Linked DNA regions of Homo sapiens: region 2 is linked to region 1. Evidence: promoter capture Hi-C in 16 types of primary human blood cells and fetal thymus (Javierre and others, 2016). All regions are on one chromosome and are shown on one strand. The core of a region is centred on a gene start or on the middle of the fragment in contact, and the rest is flanking DNA. Distances in the headings are between cores, read along the strand shown. Region 1 holds the start of OCA2 (OCA2 melanosomal transmembrane protein). Region 2 overlaps HERC2 (HECT and RLD domain containing E3 ubiquitin protein ligase 2).

Region 1 (3,786 bases), core at 595-3,094:
AGAGCCACACGCTTGGCCGCAGCTGTCCTGCTGGCGTTTCAAAGCCCGCATTTCGACAGATCTGCGTGCACACCAAGAGCCTTCTGCCCACTCAGGGAGCCTCCCCCGGGCTCTGTGCCCCAGCCCCTTCCCGCCCTGTAACAGTGTCCCTGAGGCACTGGGAGGGGAGCAGGTGCAGTGATGAGCGAGGAGGAGACAGTATTTCTGGGACGGGAACTGGTGCATCGGTGGTCACAGGCTCCCTGGAGCCGCCATCCCACAAGGATGGGGGTCACCATGCAGGCTGCTTGCCAGCCATATCCACACCTAACGCACACGGCGGTCTGAACTGAGGGGTCTGCACATGCGACAGTGAATGTGGTCTCAGAGATCTCGGGCTCTCCTGCTGTCAGGGCCCTGGCTGGGAACTTCAGTGTCCTGGAGCCTGCCATGCCGAGGACATCCTCGGTCCCTGCTACCAGGGCAACCCCTGGCCCACCCTGTGGCTGTGCAATGTGCTCTGTTATAAGGCATGAGATCTCTTTCAGCTCTGCTGTTACACTGTGGATGGAGCCTCTTACTTCCTGCCAATTCCTGTGCAGGGCCTGGCCACTGCAGCTGTGTGTGTGTCTGTAGCTGTGTTGTCTCCATGTGTTTGTGCGTGTATCTGTGTGTGTGTCTGTATCTGTGTGTGTATCTGTGTGTGTCTGTGCGTATATCTGTGTTTGTATATCTGTATATGTGTATCTGCGTGTGTGTCTGTGCATGTATCTGTGTGTGTGTCTGTATGTGTCTATGTATCTGTGTATCTCTGTGTCTGCGTATCTGTGTGTCTGTGTATCTCTGTGTGTAGATCTCTGTATCTGTGTGTATCTGTGCATGTGTGTATCTGTGTGTCTGTATCTGTGTGCCTGTGTATATCTGTGTCTGTGTATCTCTGTGTGTGTCCGTGTGTGTATCTGTGTGTGTCTCTGTATCTCTGTATCTGTATGTATCTCTGTATCTGTATCTGTGTGTCTGTACCTGTGTCTGTGTATCTGTGTCTGAGTATCTGTATATATTTGTGTGTGTCTGTGTATCTGTGTCTGTGTGTATATCTGTGTATCTGTGTGTATCTCTGTGCCTGTGTGTGTGTCTCTGTGTATCTGTGCATGTGTCTGTGTGTATCTGTGTATGTGTGTCTGTGTATCTGCATGTGTCCTTGTGTGTCATCTGTGTATCTGTGTCCTGTATCTGTGTGTCTGTGTATTGCTGTGTCTCTGTGTGTGTCTCTGTGTATGTGTATCTGTGTATCTGTGTCTGTGTATATCGTGTCTATCTCTGTATCTGTGTGTGTGTCTGTGTGTATCTGTGTGTGTCTGTGTATCTGTGTGTGTCTGTGTATCTCGTGTGTGTGTCTGTGCTGCAGGAGGGGCTGTCGGCAAGTGTAACCTTGGCGTCCTAGCTGGAGGGCCTCTCAGTGCCCGCTGGGAGAGCTCTGAAGGGAACAGAATGTTCACTGAGCATTTCCCCGTTCTTGTTCATAGGGAAAAGCCTGTCCGCAGTCCTGGGCCGCCTCTTTAGAGGTAAAGCTGGAAACTATCCCCGCGGAGAGCGCTGTCGGGGACGCCGGGGCGGCGTGGCCTTAGACGGAGCTGCTCTCAGCCCGCGCCGCCGGGGGCTGGGGAGCTGAGGGGCCGGGGGTGCGGAGCGGGCGAGCTGTGGGCGGGGCCATGTGGGCAGCTTTGTGGGCGTGGCCGGGAGGGGCGTGCTACGGGCGTGGCCGCACTGTGGGCGGGGCCGAGTGGGGAGTGCTGTGGGCGGGGCCGGGCCGGGGGCGTGCCTGGGTGGGGGACCCGCTGCGGGAGCGCCGAGCTCCCTCTGAGTTCTTACTTCGAAGGCTGTGCTCCGCTCACCATCCAGAGCGGAGGTGCGGACCTTAAACTCACTCCTGGAGAAAGATCTGCAAGTGCGCAGGTAAAGTGCACGTGCTCCGCGGTCGGGAGGAAGGAGGCGAGGAGCCAGACTAGCCTGGGAACAGGCAGGGAGGGTTTACACAGCCCCGGCTGAGTCGCGGCTTAGGAAGCAAGGCAAGTTCCCCTAAAGGTTAGTGTGCACAGACGGGTGCGACGGAGCCGACCTAGCGCGGCTGAGTCCGCCTGGGCCTGCAGCAGCTGCCCCCTGAGCACCCCCTCCGGCTCTCTGCCAGGCGACCCAGGAAAAAGTCGCCCCCTGGTGGGCCATGAGGTCATGGGTGGGGGGAGTTTGGAAAGGTTCAGACAGCAAATGTTCCACTTGAACTCCAGGGCAGCATCTGGCACTGCGGGGCCTCCTAGCCATGAGCCGTGGTCAGGCGTTTCCTTAGAATGGAATGCACTGGAGTGAAAACACTAAATCCCTCAAAGCTGCTTCTCTTTACTGTGGTCACACACAGTGAAATCAATGGGCATTAGTGCAGCTAGCTCTTTTCAAGGACACAATGTTAAGCACAGGAAGCCTGGTATGTGGACGCTCTGGGTTTGCAGAACCAGGCAGGGGCCAGGGGCTCAGGACAAGTGCCCGGTGCTCCCTTCCCATTGGGCGAATCAGAGCCTGGGGCCCGGCGGTGAAGCTCCCCAGGTGACTCTAATGTGCAGTGCACTTTGAGGAGCACTACTTAGACCAATGTGACAGTCTACAATGTGTAGATTTAGGGTGAGTGATTCTGAGGAAAAGAAACCCGAGGCTGTTAGCAGTTGTGGGCAGCTGCTGTCTACCTAAACCAGCTGCGGTTTGCTTGCTTGGTGAGCCTGAGCTTCGCGGGGCGGGCATGGCATCTGCCATCCAGGACCCTGGGACGGGGCCTGCCAGGGCAAGGAGCTGAGCATTGAACGCATCTGGGGATAACTATCTCTCATAGAAGAACTAATGAGGATTGAACCTGAACACAGAGATGAAAGAGCTGAGTAGACTGCAAAGAATTGCACAAAAACTGCTTGTTCTGCAAATTTAGTTTACAACAATTTGAGTGCAGTTCACATTGGTGTAATGTGATTTAGGATCATAAGTCCCTAAAGTTTCATTACACTGATGAAAAGCAAATGCCTATACTGTTCTTGTTTTATGAGAAGAACGCAACCTCCAGCCCCTGGAGCAGCTGAGATCTGAGGATATCAGGAATACCAGGAATGGGGAGGTCCTGGCTGTCCCTGGAAACCCAGCGGCATGACACCTGTGTCACCTGGGTCCCCGTTTCTATGCTGGAGTGGCAGGCAGCAAGGAAATATTTTGAGTTTGAGGCCATATGCATTTTGGAAAGATCACTGTGGCTGGGGGGTTGGGAGCAGCTGGGGAGTTGAAGAAAGCCACTGCCAAGGCCTTCCCACTGAGTGTGGTTGCCAGGCCGGGGCAGGGAAGCACTGGTGAGCTGCAGGGGGGATTCCCAGTTGGTGATGGGTGATGGATGGTGGGATCAGTGGGCCCCTGGGAAAGGCCAGGTGTGGCTTCAGCACTCTGGGAGTTTTGGGTACCTTTATGTCTAGGGACACAAAGAGGTAGATGGACACAGTGGTTTGAGCTGCAGAAGAGAGTTGGGCGGCCACCTGTCCACAGGTGAGGATGAGGTTTCTTGGGAGAGTAGAGAGAAAGGGGAGGCTTTTAACTGTTAGTAGTGGAAAGATGGCTTGCAATGGAGATAAAGGCTACCACAGAGGGGAGGAAAGCCCAGAGCCTGGAGGCCAGGGGGCAGGATCTGGGGCAGGGGCTGACCCAGTGTGGCATTCTCCATATGCTGGAAATGTGAGAAGAGACTCCACAAGCCGGAGCTCCCTCAGCTCCTTGGGGCCGCTG
Region 2 (3,786 bases), core at 352-2,851, 160 kb before region 1:
ATCACTCAGCAGGCTGGACTCAGTAAGGGTTCCCTCTGTGTGGTGAGGTCACCTGTACTTGTACTGCAGGCACACTGAGACCATGAGTGTGCATTGTGCTGTGGAGCCACATTGGGAGGTGGGATTGGGTCCACTTGGGACACCCTCATGTGAACTCATCCTTGGTGGGTGATTCCTGCTTGCTCAGTTGCAAAGGTGTCCAGCATGCATTGTAGTTGGAGGCAAGAGATGGAAGCCAAGGTATGTAGATAAGAGTGCCGGCGCCTTCAGTGTGGGCTGCCGGTGCAGGCAGAGAGGATGGGAGTCTCTGCAAGAAGACCCTGAGATTCTTCTGTGGTGTTCTTACTAGGGATGTTATGCTGCAGGAAGTTGGGGTGGGGGCCATCAAAACTATGATGTTGGAGGGATCTTTCTAAGGTAAAACAGGACTTTTCCGTACCACCTGGCCTAGTGGTTGGGAGATAGTCTTCATCCTAATCGAGAACTGTTGAAGGGCAGACAAATTGACAAGAAAGTAGGAAGAAGGGAAAAGGCAGTGTGAGAGGTACATCAGATGGACTCTTTAGGGTTCTCTTCTCTCAGGGGTGGGCAGCCTTTTTCTTAAAGGACCAGATTGTATTTGAAGTAGGTGGACCTGGCAGTGTTCCAACACCAGTGTCTTCACAGAAGCAGGCCTTGGGCTGCGTTGTGTGTGGGGGCTGTAGTTCGTTGGGTCCTGGTACTACATACATTCTTTGTGTGTTTGGTTCTTTACCAAGTGGGTTTGGAAGTGGGACTTTTAAGTGAGACTTGCCAGTTCCCTTCTCCATTAGTTTTATTTTAAAGCAGGTTAATATTTTGATGACTGAGAGTTTTGTGCGCCCATATGGTGTTTATTGTTTTCTAAGCTTCTGAGATAAGTTGCAGAGTAAGAAGTTTACTCTGTGTCATTGAATGGTATTTGAATTTCATTTGCCTTCTTGTTTATATTCCCCTCCATTAGTATAGGAAAGCTACGACAATCATTAGTATAGAAATCATTTACTTTGAGGGTATTTAAATTACTGTTGAGAAACACCTTTTTTGTTGCTGATGTTAACTTATGGTAAGTTCCTAGGATAGAATTTTTCCCCTTACTGCAGTGTGGTTTTTCAGCTGAATTATTTTATATACTGACATTTCTGCGAAACACCCTTTGTGTTGGCCATGTTAGATTTACCAGGAAGGAAAAATAGAATATTTTGCTAAGTGTTTAAATAGAAACAATGTTTTAAATATCAGTTATATCTAACTGAGAGAACAATAGATTTCTTCTTAGGAAACCTTCCTCACTGAAGAGTGTGCTATGCATTGTTAAATCTCGGATGGGAGAATATGATCTAATAGTTAATTAAAAGCACCTTGTTTCTTTCTGACTGAAAATCTGAATGAGGAGGAGAAAAAAAAACAGATCCTTTTTGTATCCTAGTATTATGATCTTTGTAGACTGTGGGTCCTAACGAATTGTAGCTGACAAAATACAGCAGTTTTAATAACACACCCAAAGCAAATGAATTGTGCTTAATATTAAAGCAAAGCAGATTATCCTCAAGAAGTTAATGTTAAAAGCTGTCTGACCTGAATGGCCTAGGAAATATCTTTCTTGCAGCGGAAGTCATAGGCTTGAAGCTGCATCTGCATCCCTCTTCCCTTGTAGGGAAGAAGGTGATTGATGTGGCTGCAGGCTCCACCCACTGCCTGGCTCTGACTGAGGACAGCGAGGTCCACAGCTGGGGGAGCAACGACCAGTGCCAGCACTTTGACACCTTGCGCGTGACCAAGCCAGAACCTGCAGCATTGCCAGGACTGGACACCAAACACATAGTGGGAATTGCCTGTGGGCCTGCCCAGGTACTGAATATAGAGCTTGATTTGGTATTTTGGAGGATTTTGGTTTCCAGTTGTTCATTACCAGTATGTAGAAAATACCACTGAGTTTTGTTTGTTGTTCTTGTGTCCTGCAGTTGTGCTAAACTCATTTATTATGAGCTTCACTGTAGTTTCCTTGGGTTTTCTTCATGGACAATTAAATGCTATCTGTATAGAGGGGCAGTTTCATTTCTTCCTTTCCAGTCTGCTCGCCTTTTATGTCTTTTCCCGGCCTGATTGCCCTGGCCAGGACTTGCAGTGTGAAGCTGAATAGGAGAGGTGACAGTGGGCACCCTGCCTTGATCCTGACTGTAGGGGAAGGCAGTTCAGTCTTTCACCATCAACTGTGATGTTAGCTGTGGGTATTTATGTAGATGCCTTATTATCAGATTAAGGGAGTGTCTTTAATTCCCCGTTTTAGAAGCTTCTAAAAAATCCTGACTGGATGTTAAAATTTGTTAAATGCTTTTAATCTTCTCAAATGAAATGGTCATGCAGTTTTCCTTCTTTAGTGTGTTAGTATGGTGTATTACATGATGCTTTTTACTTTTCTTTTTCTTAAACATTTTTTTTTTTTCTTTTTTGGAGATACGGTTTCACTATGTTGCCCAGGCTGGTCTCGAACTCCTGAGCTCTAGCGATCTGCCTGCCTTGGCCTCCCAAAGTGCTGGGATTACAGGTGTGAGGCACTGCACCAGCCTGATTTTTAAATACTGATCAAGCCTTGTGTTACTTGGATAGGCATCACTTGGCCACAATTTACTACTCTTTTTTTTTTTTTTTTTTTTTGCCAGATGGAGTCTCACTCTGTCACCCAGACTGGAGTGCATTGGTGCAATCTCAGCTCTCTGCAACCTGTGCCTCCTGGGTTCACGCAATTCTCCTGCGTCAGCCTCCTGAGTAGCTGGGATTATAGGTGTGCACTACCATGCCTGGCTAATTTTTGTATTTTTTTTTTTTCTTTTTAGTGGAGATGGGGTTTCACCATGTTGGCCAGCCTGGTCTCCAACTCCTGACCTCAAGTGATCCATCCTCCTTGGCATCCCAAAGTGCTGGGATTACAGGTGTGAGCCACTGTGCCTGGCCCTATTCTGTTTCTGTATTGCAAAATTTGACTTGCTAACAGGTTGTTGAGGATTTTTCTGTTGATGCTCATTAGAGATGTTGGTTTGTGGTTTTCTTTCTTTGTGTTATACTATCTTGTCTGACTTTCTATCAGGGGAAAGCTGACCTTATACAAAATATTGGCATGTGTTCCGTCCTTTTTCATTTTCTATAAGGGATTGTGTAGAATTAGTGTTATTTCTTCTTTAAATGTTTTTGAATCCCATCTGAGTCTGGAGATTGCTTTCTAAAAGATTTTACGCCAGACACAGTGGCTCACGCCTGTAATCCCAGCACGTTGGGAGGCCGAGATGGGTGGATCACCTGAGGTCAGGAGTTTGAGACCAGCCTGGCTAACATGGTGAAACCTGTTTCTACTAAAAATACAAAAATTTCGTCGAGCTTGGTGATGTGCGCCTGTAATCCCAGCTACTCAGGAGGCTAAGGCAGGAGAATCGCTTGAATCTGGGAGGCAGAAATTGCAGTGAGCCGGGATGGCGCCATTGCACTCCAGCTTGGGCAACAAGAGCGAAACTCCGTCTCAAAAAAACAAAAACAAACAAAAAAAAGATTTTGCAACTTCAATTTCTTTAACAGATATAGAAGTATTCAGGTGACCTGTTTGTTTCTAGGAGGATTTTCCTGATTTTTGGCCCTCAGATGTGCTTTACTTCATCTACGTTGTCTGATTTTTACGTGTCAAGTTTTCCTTAGTATTCTCTTGCTGTCTGAAGTCTGTGGGGCCTGCGGTGATGTCCCTTCATTCATTCTTGATTCTGATAATTTGTATCTTTT

Evidence for each region. Contacts are between HindIII fragments. The CHiCAGO score rates a contact against its expected background, and 5 or more counts as called.
Region 2: a fragment that was not itself captured here is called in contact with the fragment with the promoter of OCA2 in region 1 in 2 of 17 cell types (M0 macrophages and M1 macrophages); the score reaches 6.2 in M0 macrophages.

Annotation. Positions count from the first base shown.
Region 1 is chr15:28,097,373-28,101,158 of GRCh38, reverse strand. It overlaps OCA2 (OCA2 melanosomal transmembrane protein), which reads left to right and starts at 1,844. Exons shown (of 24, transcript NM_000275.3): 1 at 1,844-1,935. RefSeq lists an enhancer at 1,897-2,549. The HindIII fragment of the contact is 17,781 bases long and covers 1-3,786 here.
Region 2 is chr15:28,258,860-28,262,645 of GRCh38, reverse strand. HERC2 (HECT and RLD domain containing E3 ubiquitin protein ligase 2) reads left to right here. Exons shown (of 93, transcript NM_004667.6): 16 at 1,676-1,869. Among named protein-coding and RNA genes, the nearest start is that of HERC2, 61 kb to the left of the region's middle. The HindIII fragment of the contact is 1,424 bases long and covers 890-2,313 here.